3 separate regions of the Homo sapiens genome follow, and regions 2 and 3 are each linked to region 1. Evidence: promoter capture Hi-C in human tissues and cell types (Jung and others, 2019). All regions are on one chromosome and are shown on one strand. The core of a region is centred on a gene start or on the middle of the fragment in contact, and the rest is flanking DNA. Distances in the headings are between cores, read along the strand shown. Region 1 holds the start of DOCK7 (dedicator of cytokinesis 7). Region 2 overlaps DOCK7 (dedicator of cytokinesis 7). Region 3 overlaps DOCK7 (dedicator of cytokinesis 7).

Region 1 (4,298 bases), core at 314-2,813:
TAAACACTTGCTATTTTGCCCCTTCAGGAAAAAAAAAGTGCTAGAACGCTGGAAAGAAAGAAAAAAAAAAGCCTCTGCCTCGAAAGCAGCTAGGACGACAGGTGCAACACCACACCTGGCTAATTTTTTTGCAGAGATGGGGTGGGGGGGACTCGCTATGTTGCCCAGGCTGGTCTTGAACTCCTGGCCTCAAGCGATCCTCCTGCCTCGGCCTCCCAAACTGCTGGGATTACAGGCCTGAGCCACTGCATCCGGCCCAAAATTTTTAAAGAAATGTCAGCAAACTAAAAAGACTCAGAGCCACAGAACTACAACTGCCCCAAAACAAAAAAAGGTAATTTAATATGAATGCTTCTTTTCTTGGGACATCATAATTCACACAAATATGATTTTATTAAAACAAAAATGTCTACTGTCTCATACATAAGTATACTCCACAAAGAAATTCTACAAATATTAGAGTCCTCTGTCATTTAATTTTTATTTGGCGGGTGGGAGAAAGGTGGCAACCAACCACCACAAGTAGGTGAAAGGCTTTGAAACCTCCACCTCAATCACTTGCTTTACTTCAAGACTGCAATCACTTGCTTTACTTCAAGACTGCTAACATATAAAAGGATGTCAGTGTATAAAGAACACTGCCTATCATCCATCTTCTCGGGTGCTCTGAGAAACACAGGCGCACAGTTAAATTCACAGGCGAACTCAGAACAAGCTTCAGCCTGCAATCCGTCAGGGATTCGGCAGCTGCACACCGAAGGTGCAGCCCGCAGCTCTCAACTTTTCATTCTGTCCACACGTTTTCAATCCTGGACGCACAAGTCCACTTTGAACCTGGCCCGAGGGTGCAAAGAGGGTTCCTGTCAGATTTCTCAGGAAGAGAGAGACGCGTGAAGGAGGGGCGGCCTCCCACCCGCCCCGAGCCGCCGCGCGTTTCTCCTTTTGTTGGGGTGGAGGAGGGCGGACCCCGCACCCTCTAGGGGCCAAGAGGGGTGGGCGGAGAGACGGGAGGGGGCGAAACGCCGCGGCGGCCCCCGACGAGCCCGGGGGTGGGAACACAAAGAATTTGGGAAGCGGCCGACCGCCCTTCCATAAACCTCCGCAGAAGTCCAGGCCCGGGCCGCCGAGGAGCAGGAGGAGGCGGGCGCGCTGGAGTCCGCGGCCCTCTCCGCTCCCTGCCGAGGCTCAGCGGCGGGCGCGGGCTGAAGGCCGGGGTTCGAGGGCGGCGCGAGGCCTCCGCTACCCCCTCAGCCACCCCGAACCCCTTCCGCCCCGCCGCGAGCCAGGCCGCGGGATCCCGGTGCCGGCCCCGCCACACCCACCCGCCTCCTAGGCCAGGCCTGGGAGGACTCCGCGGCTCTTTCTCGGGCGGCGGCGGCGGCGCGCCCCACGCCGGATATTTACCTGCTGATCTTCTGGGCGAAGGCGCGGCGCTCGGCCATGGCTGCTGCGGCGACGGCGACGGCGGCGGCGGCTGCGGCGGGCCGGGTGCGGACCGGCGGGCGCGTGCCTCCTCGCTCGTGCTCCCTCCCTCGCGGCCTCCGCCAGTCCGGGCTCCGGACCTGGGAGGCTGGGGCTGGCGGCCGGAGCCAGGAACGAGCCCTGCCGTAATGTTCCTTAGAGGCGCGCAACGAGAAACCGCTCCTCCCCCAGCGCGTCAATCCCGGCGGGAACCCCGGCTGCGGAAGGCGGCTGCGGCCGGCGGGAGCCGAGGGGAAGAATGGAGCGCTGAGGAAGCGAGGCGCCAGCCCCAGCCGCTTCGCTGCCGCGGAGCCTGCACGACCGAGAGGTCGCGGAGAGAAGCCAGAGACAGGCCAGCGACCTGGCGAGGCAAGAAAATAAGATAACCGAACGCGTAGGGGGAGCTTGGCTTTCCCGAAATGGAAGGGAAGGAAATGAAAGGTGGGCTTTGCCGAGGGGGCTGTGCTTTAACCAAAGCCCTGGATGACTGGGTTCATGTTTCTGCAGCACCGGTCTCCGAGCTTTTTAAAGCACTTGGGTTTCTGCTTCGGCCTCATGAATGCAGCCTAACTGGAGAAACAGTGGTTTTTCTTATAGAGAAAGAGCCAGAAAATACCTTGCTCCTGCAGCGATAACAATAGTAATAGTTGACTTCTGGTGCTTAGCCAGCCACTGGATTAAAGTTTTTCAAGCACGAGCGCTTTGAAGTAGATCGTTACTATCACTATTTTAGAGGGAAGGAAATTGGCTTGGAAAAGCTAAGTGACTGGCCCCAGGTCGCACAGATGGTAAACTCTTCCACTGAGACTCAAACCCAGAGCCGGTTCTTTTCTTTGAGGACAGTTGTTTCCGTATTATTAACCCCTTTTGGATCTCTCTCTGTCTCTCATACATACATATATATATATATATATATATATATATATATATATATATATATATATATAAAATCCAGGTGAGCTCTAACGTTCACCCCCATTTTGATGTTCTGTTAAATAAGCTCTGTGTTGACCACTGAAACTGACCTTGTCCATAATAGCCTATAAAACAGAGACTAGCAGAGATTTGTTTTCATCTGTTCTGTTGTAATCCCATAATGTCTAGAATATTTGGCTCCTAATGCATATCTGTTGATACTGAAATTATGGTGACACTAAGAAAAATATCTTGGTTTCTTGTAGTACCTTTCCTCTTAAGTATTGCAAGAACTTAAAATGTGTATTTATTTATTGTTATTATTATATTCTCAGTATGTCCTGGTGGAATATGTTGGATACCTGTTTTCCTCTCTTTTACCATTGGAAAATCTGTAGCTTGGAGCCATTAGGTCACTTGCCAGAGTCACACACTGAGTCAGAGGTGAAAGCCTCAATTAGTCAGATCCATAACTTCCTGTCTAGTGCTGTAACTTCTGTGGAAGACTGTGTATTTATATAACAATGCTCATTGCAGTAACACACTGCTTTTATTTATTGATTTATTTATTTTAGACAGAATCCCCCTGTGTTGCTCAAGCATGGAATGCATAGGGCACTGCAGCCTAAAACTCCTAGGCTCAAGCAATCCTCTTGCCTCAGCCTCTGGAGGAGTAGCTAGTACCACAGGCTCTTGCCAAGGCGCCCTCCAGTAACACACTGTTTTCAGATGCTTGTTTACTAAAGGAAAAGATAGTCTATTCAAAGAGGACAGATATTTGGCTTCTACCTAAGTATAGAGCCCACCTAGGTGTTCTAAAAAACACGAAGGTGAACTAGACACAGACCTGCTCTCAGAATGTTTGAGTCCATTGGGAAAGATGAACCAGGTACTCACAGACTGTAAGTCAAGGCTATCACTGTACCTGGCTTTTAAGACCCTCTGTGATAGGAACCCAGACTTATTTTGCCACTTTCTTACTCTGTAACCTTAGGCAAGCTACTTAACTTCATCTCTAAAAGGAGGAAAATAATTATATCTACTTGAAAGGGTGTTGTGAAGATTTATTGAATTGATTAATATAAAGTTCTTAGAACAGGGCCTGGTTCATGGTAAGTACGATGTGTGTCAGCTGTTGTTATTATTATCACTGTTACTGTCATTATTCATCCTATACTTAAGCTTGTCCTGGGTGTTTGATAGTCCCTGAATTGGTTGTCTGCTCTCATACTCCCAGCCAGATGTTGCATGCCTTTATCTCTGTTCTCCAAACATCTTTTCACTACTCTCTTAGAGAACTGGCCACATTTTGCTTTGAATAGTTCTTTGTATACATGACTCACTAGTTGCCAAAGTGTCTGAAAGGACTTTGCATGTACTCTGCAGCTTACTGGAAACATTTAGAGCAGGAAGAGGACAAGCAGGATCACGCTGTAAGCAGGGTAATTCAGAGTCTGGGGAACACTCTAAGCAGGAAGGGTGACCCCCTACCTCTGGGGAAGAGCTGGCAGTCACAGACCAAGTCATGTTGGCTGGTATCCCTGCCCCACAGGGTTTCAATGTCAGGAAAAGATATGGAACGCAGCAATGGGAGTGACAGTGGAATTGCTTCAGCTGACTAGCATCCATGCTCCCTATACCACCCCCTACACACACACACACACACACACACACACACACACACACACAGGTGTCAATCCACTATACTTCTGGGGAGCTCACTCCACCACCCTCAGTTTCAAGGGTCTTTTGACCTGGGCCTCACCAAGCAAAGCAGCACACTCCTCTGGCTTCTGTAACTGATTTAGGGATAGGCTCATGAATCAAACCAAGACAATCGGGCCCAACCAGAATTAGAAATTGCATTTGGTATACCAGGGCACTCCATCTAAAGAAGGCCTACCTGAGAATGAAGCCAAGCA
Region 2 (4,788 bases), core at 1,257-3,756, 84 kb before region 1:
ATATTTACGGAGTTAAAGGTCACTGGACTCCAGACTGGTGATAGAACAAGACTCTGTCTCTAAAAAATAATTAATTTTTTAAAAGAAAATAGTTTGGTAAGATGATTCTTACATTCTTAAATAACACGCCATCTAAGAAAAATGCTTTAACATAAACATTACTGAAAAAATGCTACATTTGCCACAACTTCATAAAATGTCAAGTGAAATCTCAAGCTCCAAAGATATTATTCCTATTACTAAATCTGATGTAATAACATTTTATTGATTCTAGGCATTCCTGCTGAATGTACCACCATTTATAACAGAGGTGAACATACAAGTGGCATGTATGCCATCAGACCCAGCAACTCTCAAGTTTTTCATGTCTACTGTGATGTTATATCAGGTAAAACCTGTCTAAGGAGAATAGACAGTAGTTAGTTCAACTTACTCATTACGTATTAGGAAGATTAACCTGGTTATCATTGTTTTATACATATATATATGAAATATATATGAGTATTCGTATAAATATAATACTTTTACCTTGTTTATGTATTTACTCAATATTCTCCTTTTCCTCTAAAATAATCTGAAGTGACTATTATCAATAAGTTTACTATGCCAAAATTCATTAATTGCCTTTCACTTAACTTTTGGGACCATAATAAATAATAAAATGTATTGCCATAACATTAATAAACTACCTTACAAAACCACCAATTAAAATCAAACAAACAAAAAAGTGTTATTTACATCTGTCAACATAAATCTACTAAAAATACATGATTTCATTCATTATATTCAGGTAGTCCATGGACATTAATTCAACATCGAATAGATGGATCACAAAACTTCAATGAAACGTGGGAGAACTACAAATATGGTTTTGGGAGGCTTGATGGTAAGGGGACTACATTCAATCATTCATTCACTTGCTAATCTACAAATATTTACTGAGAACCTCTTATGGACCAGGTATTAGGAAAAGTAGTAACGAACGAGAAGCAGTCTCAGCCTTCATATAATTTATTATCAAACAATTACACATTTGTTAGTAAATTACACTTATTACAACTGTTATTATTTGAATTATATTTATCACAATTACATGTCTGTTCTTAAATATACTTATCACAATTTAATTCCACGGCTTACAATGATCATAACTATAATTATTAAAGACAATTTTGATTAAATGTTATGTCATAAGTAGTAACTGTTACAAATAAGCTGTGAAAAGAACCACTCCTAGCATTAGTCACTCTATTCTCTCATTAACGTTTTACATATCAATTAATTGGAAGTTAAAAGGACCAGGAAACTCAGACATACAGTATACATTTTAAAATTTCAATTATTTAAATATAATATATAGAATGTATGGCTTATAATGAATTAGTTAACTCAATGCAAATTATTCTATTTTGATTACAAATAGTAAAATAAGCAAGATAAAATAACAGATGTTTAAAATCCAAAAAGCACATACAAAAATCCATGAATGATGTCTAAGTACTCACTTATAAAGTAGAAGACATTCATTATTATATCAAATTTTTAAATGCTCAGTACTATTTGACCATTTAAAAATTTTGTATTCAAACTACCAGTGAAAGCCCTACCTAGAAGGTATACTCAGTGATAAGTTTTGTAGCTCCAAATCTTCTAATAGTGAGTGTAACCCCAAAATAAAAGGCTGACAGGTAAGTCGAGAATACTCACTTAATTCTGGTAAGAAAGCAACCCATTTGTACTTGTATTTACCAGCAATCCTTAAAATGAAGCTTCCTACTAACTCAATAGCAATAAGACAATAGTGAATGTTTAATGAAAACAGTATTTTATAAATACTTTAATAAAAAGGATTGTGATGAAGAACAATCTATTTATATTTGTTATTTGTTTTTAATTCCAATAAAAATAATTTTTAAAATTACAGAAAAAAGTTATTAAGAACCATGCTTTTAAATTTAAAATGATTTTTTAAATTTATTCCTGTCTTTTTCTACAAAGAAAGCATACATTAAGCAAATACCAAAGGCCAGGTTTACATTTGAAGAAAGTGACATTATTATTACTCAAGTCTCTAGGAATACTTAACACATCTCTTGACTGTATATGGATGTTAATAAATAGCTGACAGTAAAGTTTATCCATATAAAGACTTGCAAATATTCCTCTACCAATGACGAGACTTTAAAATATCTATAATAATGTAACACATTTCACTGGTGAAACATGTCTTGTCATATGCATTATAGAAAGGATAATCAGACTTTCAGTTATATTAATATTTTTAACATTTTTGTGCACATAGCTATCTTCAATAAAATTGTTTTAAAAGGTATTATTTTAAGATACACTAAAATGATCAAGGGATTCAAGACTAAACAACTCAATTAGTTGCACCAATAAAAAACACTTAAAAAAACTGTCAGTGTCCAACCTGTACTTAATAACTCACAGATTTTTAAAACTTTTCTTTTCAGGAGAATTTTGGTTGGGCCTAGAGAAGATATACTCCATAGTGAAGCAATCTAATTATGTTTTACGAATTGAGTTGGAAGACTGGAAAGACAACAAACATTATATTGAATATTCTTTTTACTTGGGAAATCACGAAACCAACTATACGCTACATCTAGTTGCGATTACTGGCAATGTCCCCAATGCAATCCCGGAAAACAAAGATTTGGTGTTTTCTACTTGGGATCACAAAGCAAAAGGACACTTCAACTGTCCAGAGGGTTATTCAGGTATCTTTTTCTGATACCAATACTTTATTTTCATATCTTCAAAGTATCTTCCCACATTATTAGCTATTATCTGCAATGACAACTTTTAAAAATCCGAATCCCAAATAAGCGTTTTCTCTCTAGACGAAAACCTCTTAACTATAATGAAAGTGTTCATTCTAGTTCAATCAGGTATTTTACCTCTAATCTTCCTCAGATTTTCTATTTTTTGGTAGTGTATAGATTATTTATACAGATTATTTAAAATTGGGACTTATACAGATTATTTAAAACTGGGATACATGCATCTAAAACACTGTAATATTTATAAGAAAGGAAGATAAACTTACGGGGAAATACAGTAACAGTAACTACATACGAGTCTGTACCCATTAAATTGCATATCTATCTCCTTTAGGAGGCTGGTGGTGGCATGATGAGTGTGGAGAAAACAACCTAAATGGTAAATATAACAAACCAAGAGCAAAATCTAAGCCAGAGAGGAGAAGAGGATTATCTTGGAAGTCTCAAAATGGAAGGTTATACTCTATAAAATCAACCAAAATGTTGATCCATCCAACAGATTCAGAAAGCTTTGAATGAACTGAGGCAAATTTAAAAGGCAATAATTTAAACATTAACCTCATTCCAAGTTAATGTGGTCTAATAATCTGGTATTAAATCCTTAAGAGAAAGCTTGAGAAATAGATTTTTTTTATCTTAAAGTCACTGTCTATTTAAGATTAAACATACAATCACATAACCTTAAAGAATACCGTTTACATTTCTCAATCAAAATTCTTATAATACTATTTGTTTTAAATTTTGTGATGTGGGAATCAATTTTAGATGGTCACAATCTAGATTATAATCAATAGGTGAACTTATTAAATAACTTTTCTAAATAAAAAATTTAGAGACTTTTATTTTAAAAGGCATCATATGAGCTAATATCACAACTTTCCCAGTTTAAAAAACTAGTACTCTTGTTAAAACTCTAAACTTGACTAAATACAGAGGACTGGTAATTGTACAGTTCTTAAATGTTGTAGTATTAATTTCAAAACTAAAAATCGTCAGCACAGAGTATGTGTAAAAATCTGTAATACAAATTTTTAAACTGATGCTTCATTTTGCTACAAAATAATTTGGAGTAAATGTTTGATATGATTTATTTATGAAACCTAATGAAGCAGAATTAAATACTGTATTAAAATAAGTTCGCTGTCTTTAAACAAATGGAGATGACTACTAAGTCACATTGACTTTAACATGAGGTATCACTATACCTTATTTGTTAAAATATATACTGTATACATTTTATATATTTTAACACTTAATACTATGAAAACAAATAATTGTAAAGGAATCTTGTCAGATTACAGTAAGAATGAACATATTTGTGGCATCGAGTTAAAGTTTATATTTCCCCTAAATATGCTGTGATTCTAATACATTCGTGTAGGTTTTCAAGTAGAAATAAACCTCGTAACAAGTTACTGAACGTTTAAACAGCCTGACAAGCATGTATATATGTTTAAAATTCAATAAACAAAGACCCAGTCCCTAAATTATAGAAATTTAAATTATTCTTGCATGTTTATCGACATCACAACAGATCCCTAAATCCCTAAATCCCTAAAGATTAGATACAAATTTTTTACCACAGTATCACTTGTCAGAATTTATTTTTAAATATGATTTTTTAAAACTGCCAGTAAGAAATTTTAAATTAAACCCATTTGTTAAAGGATATAGTGCCCAAGTTATATGGTGACCTACCTTTGTCAATACTTAGCATTATGTATTTCAAATTATCCAATATACATGTCATATATATTTTTATATGTCACATATATAAAAGATATGTATGATCTATGTGAATCCTAAGTAAATATTTTGTTCCAGAAAAGTACAAAATAATAAAGGTAAAAATAATCTATAATTTTCAGGACCACAGACTAAGCTGTCGAAATTAACGCTGATTTTTTTAGGGCCAGAATACCAAAATGGCTCCTCTCTTCCCCCAAAATTGGACAATTTCAAATGCAAAATAATTCATTATTTA
Region 3 (4,680 bases), core at 2,181-4,680, 110 kb before region 1:
AAGGAGTGTGAATGCTATGAAGAGAACCCCAATAAATAGAACATCATTAAAGTTTGGAAGGATTATACCACTGAAAATGCTATCATTGTTCTAACAAAAACCATCAAGCCTGAAACAATAAATTCTTGCTGGAGAAAACTGTGTCCAGAGGTTGTCATGACTTTACAGACTTTATGACAGAGCCAATCAAGAAAATCATGAAATAAATTGTGGATATGGCAAAAAGGAAAAAAAAAAGTGAGGGGTATAGATTTCCAAGGAGAAACTCACAAGCTCATAGACACCAGACTGGAGGAATTAATAGAAGAAGACTTGATGGAGATGAGTGCTTTTAAACCAGTGCCAGACATTGAGGCAGCAAACATAGAAGAAACAGTGTCAGAAAACAAACTGACATTATACAACATGGCAGAAGGGTTATTCAAGACTGCTTTTGACTTCTTTTAAAACATGGACCCATCTGTGCTAAGGGCACTAAAACTAAAACAAACGAATAAAGATTGGCACCACATAGAAATATTTTTTTTCTTTTTTTTATATTGAGACAGAGTCTCACTCTGCCGCCCAGGCTGGAGTGCAGTGGCACAATCTCGGCTTACTGTCAACCTCTGCCTCCCGGGTTCAAGCGATTCTCACGCCTCAGCCTCACAAGTAGCTGGAATTACAGGTGCCTGCCACCACACCTGGCTAATTTTTTGTATTTTTAGTAGAGAAGGAGTTTTGCCATGTTAGCCCTGATGTTCTTGAACTGCTGACCTCAGGTGATCTGCCCACCTCGGCCTCCCAAAGTGCTGGGATTACAGGCATGAGCCACCACACCTGGCCAGAAACACTTTCTTAAAAGAGATGGGGTCTTGCTATGTTTCCCAGGCTGGAGGGCACTGGCTAGTCAAAGGCACAACCACAGCAAAGTGCAGCCTCGAACTCCAGAACTCGAGTGATCCTCTCAAGAAGCTGGGATTACAGGTGTGCCACTGCATCCTGCTCTGGAAATATTTTTAGAGGAATGAAAAAGCAAAAATGTCAGACAGAAATTATGATGTATTTCTGTAAAGTTACACCAAGTGTGCCTGCTTCCCCTTCCACCTCTTCTGCCTCTGCTACCTCTAAGATAGCAAGACCAATCCCTACTCTTCCTCCTCCTCCTCAGCCTACCCATCATGAAGACAATGAGGATGAAGGCCTTGATGACGATCCACTTCTACTTAGTGATAGTAAATATATTTTCTGTGCCTTATGATTTTCTTAAGAACATTTTCTTTCCTCTATATCACTTTAAGAATATGGTATATAATACATTTAACATACGAAATACATGCTAATTAACTGTTTATGTTACTGGTAAGGCTTTCAGTCAACAGTAAGCTATTATATTAGCAGTTAAGTTTTTAGGGAGTCAAAAGTTATACGTGGATTTTTCAAGTGCATGCTAGGGAGGAGGGATGTCACCCCTTACTGCCATGTTGTTTAAGGGTCAACTGTTTACAAAAGTTTTGGCTCTTAATCAGGTGGCTTATTTCACATATCAAGCAGCTATATTATATGTCTACAGTCAAATCCAAATTATCACCATATTCTTGATCTGTGAGCATATACAGTATGGTAGCTAGAAGAAAATCATGAGTCTCCCTTTAGAAAGCTGAACTTGCACTGCAATTAAGTAAAAACAAATCCTTAACTTCAACAAAAATATATTTTCTTTTAAAACATCTCCTTTGAAACATAATGCTCTCTGACAAATGGCCACCTTTCTATATAACAAAGTCACATGAAAAAGTCATCACTGAAAAGATGTGTCCCTGGAAAAATGAATGAAAGATTGGGAGGAGGGAGAGTCATATTTCTTACTCTACTGTCTTTATTCATTAATCTAATAAGTATATATTGAGTGTCTATGATGTGCCAAGTACTGTTCTAAATACTTGTAGACAGCAATGAGCAAGACAGACAAAGTTCCTACCCTCATAGTGTTTATACTCTATAGAGAATAAATAAGCAAAAAACATTTTAAATACAAAGTCAATGATAAATGACATGAGGAAAAATAAAGAGATAAAGTGGGAGAGGCTGCTATTTAGAATAATCATAGATGACTTCCTTGGTGAGGTGATATTTGAGTAGAGGTCTGAGTAAAATGAAGAACCAGGCTTTGTGATAGAGCACTGCCAGCAGAGGGAAGAGCAAAGGGCCTGAAATGCAAATGCACTTTTCGTGTGTAAGGAACAGCAGAGGCTCTGTGCTATGTGGCTATCAAAAGTGAGTGACAGAGAACAGTGAGAAATAAGATCAGAGCAATAGCCTTGAATTGTTTTTTAAAAATAAAAATACATAAAAATTTATTTGTGAATACATTTTGAATTGTATTCTGAAAACAAATAGCACCAGGAAAATATTCACAAAACGTATTTTAGAGTAACATTTACCAGCAGTTATATTCAAAATCATTAAGAGACACTGACAACCATTGTGTTTCTCTCAAGAGGAACTTTGGTTTATGAACGGTGGCTATTGATTCTTGATTGAGATTTTTCCAATATTTGTGTTACAAGTCTTTCAAATCCCATATGTAATCATCAAAGTTGCCAATATCTCATGTATTACAGGTTCACAGCTACTTTGTTTTCATTCACATGATCTTCAATTACAAAAAGATTCTAAAAAATTAATTTAAATCTGTTTTCCTTCCTCCAGTCTTTTAGTGAAATGTTAAGTCTACTAAAAATAAAAAAGAAATATTCATTTATTTAAAGAAGTTTCTCAAGTTACAGTATGAAAATTCTCCAAAATGATCTTTTGAGTTTACATTCCATGTATTATTTTGGTTTTAAAATGAGGATATTTACATTTAAAATGAAATTTAAATTTAAATTTAAAAACAGGATAAAAGCTTTTAAGTTTTATGTAAAAGAATTTTAACCACGGGAGAAAATACTTTTCCTTCATTATCTATAAACTTTAAGTAGAAGAAATGGCAAGAGTTTGCTTGGTAAAAACATCTTTATAGTAAAAAACCCATTTCATTCAATCTGGAGAAAGTCAACATGGGAGACACTGACCTCAGGAGACAGTACAGAATAAGCCTGTGGTGGTTTTTCCAATGAGACTGGCAAGCAAAACTGGCCAGTCTTCAACCGTCCATTCTGAAGCATTGGTATCCACTTTTAAATGAAAAGAAAACAATTTTATTTTAAATATGCTTGCTATAAAAATAATTACTTAGCATGTTTTAAGAACTTGGTACAAGCCAAATTTGTCCCATATCATCAAACATTAAGGGATTTAATTATACAAGTAATAATAATAATAGGCCTTCATAATCCCTCTAAAGAGAAGTTTCCCTAATGAAATTTTATTAAGGAGGATATCACCAAAACATTATTATTACTAACCATGCAATATTAAAATCTAGAGGCAAAAAGTTGGTCTTAGAAAAAAGCCATGAAGTAAATCCATTTTAAAACTGAGATAATCATTTCAATGTAAATAGTGAAAGAAATAATTGATTGAGACAGGAATGATAGAAACAAAAAGTATGATCATAAATTTATTTTCTTACAGTTAGAGCAAAACTCATGTCACAAACTGCAAGAGACAAAAATAATGAATCAAATGTTGGCTTTTCTCTTCTGGCTGAAAGCATAATTTTTCTGACAGAACTGTGTTATACCATGACTTCCTTCATCTTAGGTTTATCTTTGCAATTCAACCATAGTAATTTTTTTTTTCTTTTTTTTTGAGACAAGAGTCTCACTCCATCGCCCAGGCCAGAGTGCAATGGCATGATCTTGGCTCACTGCAACCTCTGCCTCCCGGGCTCAAGCAATCCTCCCATCTCAGCCTCCCTAGCAGCTGGGATCACAGGTGCACGACACCACGCCTAGCTAATTTTTGTATTTTTGGTAGAGATGGGGTTATGCCAAGCTGGAAAGCATAATTTTGAAAAATACTCAAGGGTTTTAATTTATTCTCCAATAGTCTCTTTTACTCATTTTATATAAAATCATTATCTGCTGAAGAGTCTATGAACCTATTATATTTATACTGCATTGTTGGGTATACACCTAATAATCAGGACCAACACCCAAGTGTTTATACGTGTTAGTCAATAAATCAATTAATTACATTAGTTAATTACATTAATGGGCATTTTCTTGTTATAATGGCTCTTCCTAATCAATGCAACTTCATAACTGTGGGGAATCAGACAAGAAATATTTAAATAACAAGAAACAGGCCAGGCGCCATGGCTCACGCCTGTAATCCTAGCACTTTGGGAGGCCGAGGCAGGCAGATCACTTGAAGCCAAGAGTTTGAGACCAACTTGGCAAACATGGTGAAACCCCATCTCTACTAAAAATACAAAAAAATTAGTTGGACATGGTGGCGGGCACCTGTAATCCCAGCTATTCAGGAGGCTGAGGCAGGAAAACTGCTTGAACCCAGGAAACGGAGGTTGCAGTGAGCCAAGATCGCGCCACTGCACTCCAGCCTGGGAGACAGAGACTCTGTCTCAAAAAAAAAAAAAAAAAAAAAACCCACAAATGACCAGAAATATCAATTATATCTTAAATATCACCATTATTTTAGCTCTTTGATCTAAATATTGAACCAAAAGGACTCACTGTATATCCAACTGGTGTTTCAAGAGGAGTATTTTGTTTTTGTTGACAACTAACATGA

The links. The method cuts DNA at HindIII sites, captures the fragments that hold promoters and counts their contacts. A contact is called where the count stands out against the background at its distance.
Region 2: a contact is called between a fragment that was not itself captured here and the fragment with the promoter of DOCK7 in region 1, in 11 of the 25 tissues and cell types used here (IMR-90 fibroblasts, aorta, bladder and 8 more).
Region 3: a contact is called between a fragment that was not itself captured here and the fragment with the promoter of DOCK7 in region 1, in 4 of the 25 tissues and cell types used here (bladder, hippocampus, psoas muscle and 1 more).

The regions. Positions count from the first base shown.
Region 1 is chr1:62,686,823-62,691,120 of GRCh38, forward strand. DOCK7 (dedicator of cytokinesis 7) reads right to left here and starts at 1,564. Exons shown (of 50, transcript NM_001367561.1): 1 at 1,405-1,564. The coding sequence starts at 1,442. It overlaps DOCK7-DT (DOCK7 divergent transcript), which reads left to right and starts at 1,660. Exons shown (of 2, transcript NR_185999.1): 1 at 1,660-1,830. RefSeq lists a silencer at 917-1,666 and an enhancer at 2,676-2,970. The HindIII fragment of the contact is 7,491 bases long and covers 1-4,298 here.
Region 2 is chr1:62,601,495-62,606,282 of GRCh38, forward strand. All of the region lies in intron 14 of DOCK7 (dedicator of cytokinesis 7), which reads right to left. ANGPTL3 (angiopoietin like 3) reads left to right here. Exons shown (of 7, transcript NM_014495.4): 4 at 275-388; 5 at 791-886; 6 at 2,475-2,741; 7 at 3,139-4,788. The coding sequence ends at 3,323. Among named protein-coding and RNA genes, the nearest start is that of ANGPTL3, 6.4 kb to the left of the region's middle. The HindIII fragment of the contact is 5,855 bases long and covers 1-4,788 here.
Region 3 is chr1:62,574,206-62,578,885 of GRCh38, forward strand. It overlaps DOCK7 (dedicator of cytokinesis 7), which reads right to left. Exons shown (of 50, transcript NM_001367561.1): 17 at 4,623-4,680; 18 at 3,057-3,158. Among named protein-coding and RNA genes, the nearest start is that of ANGPTL3, 21 kb to the right of the region's middle. The HindIII fragment of the contact is 4,591 bases long and covers 1,136-4,680 here.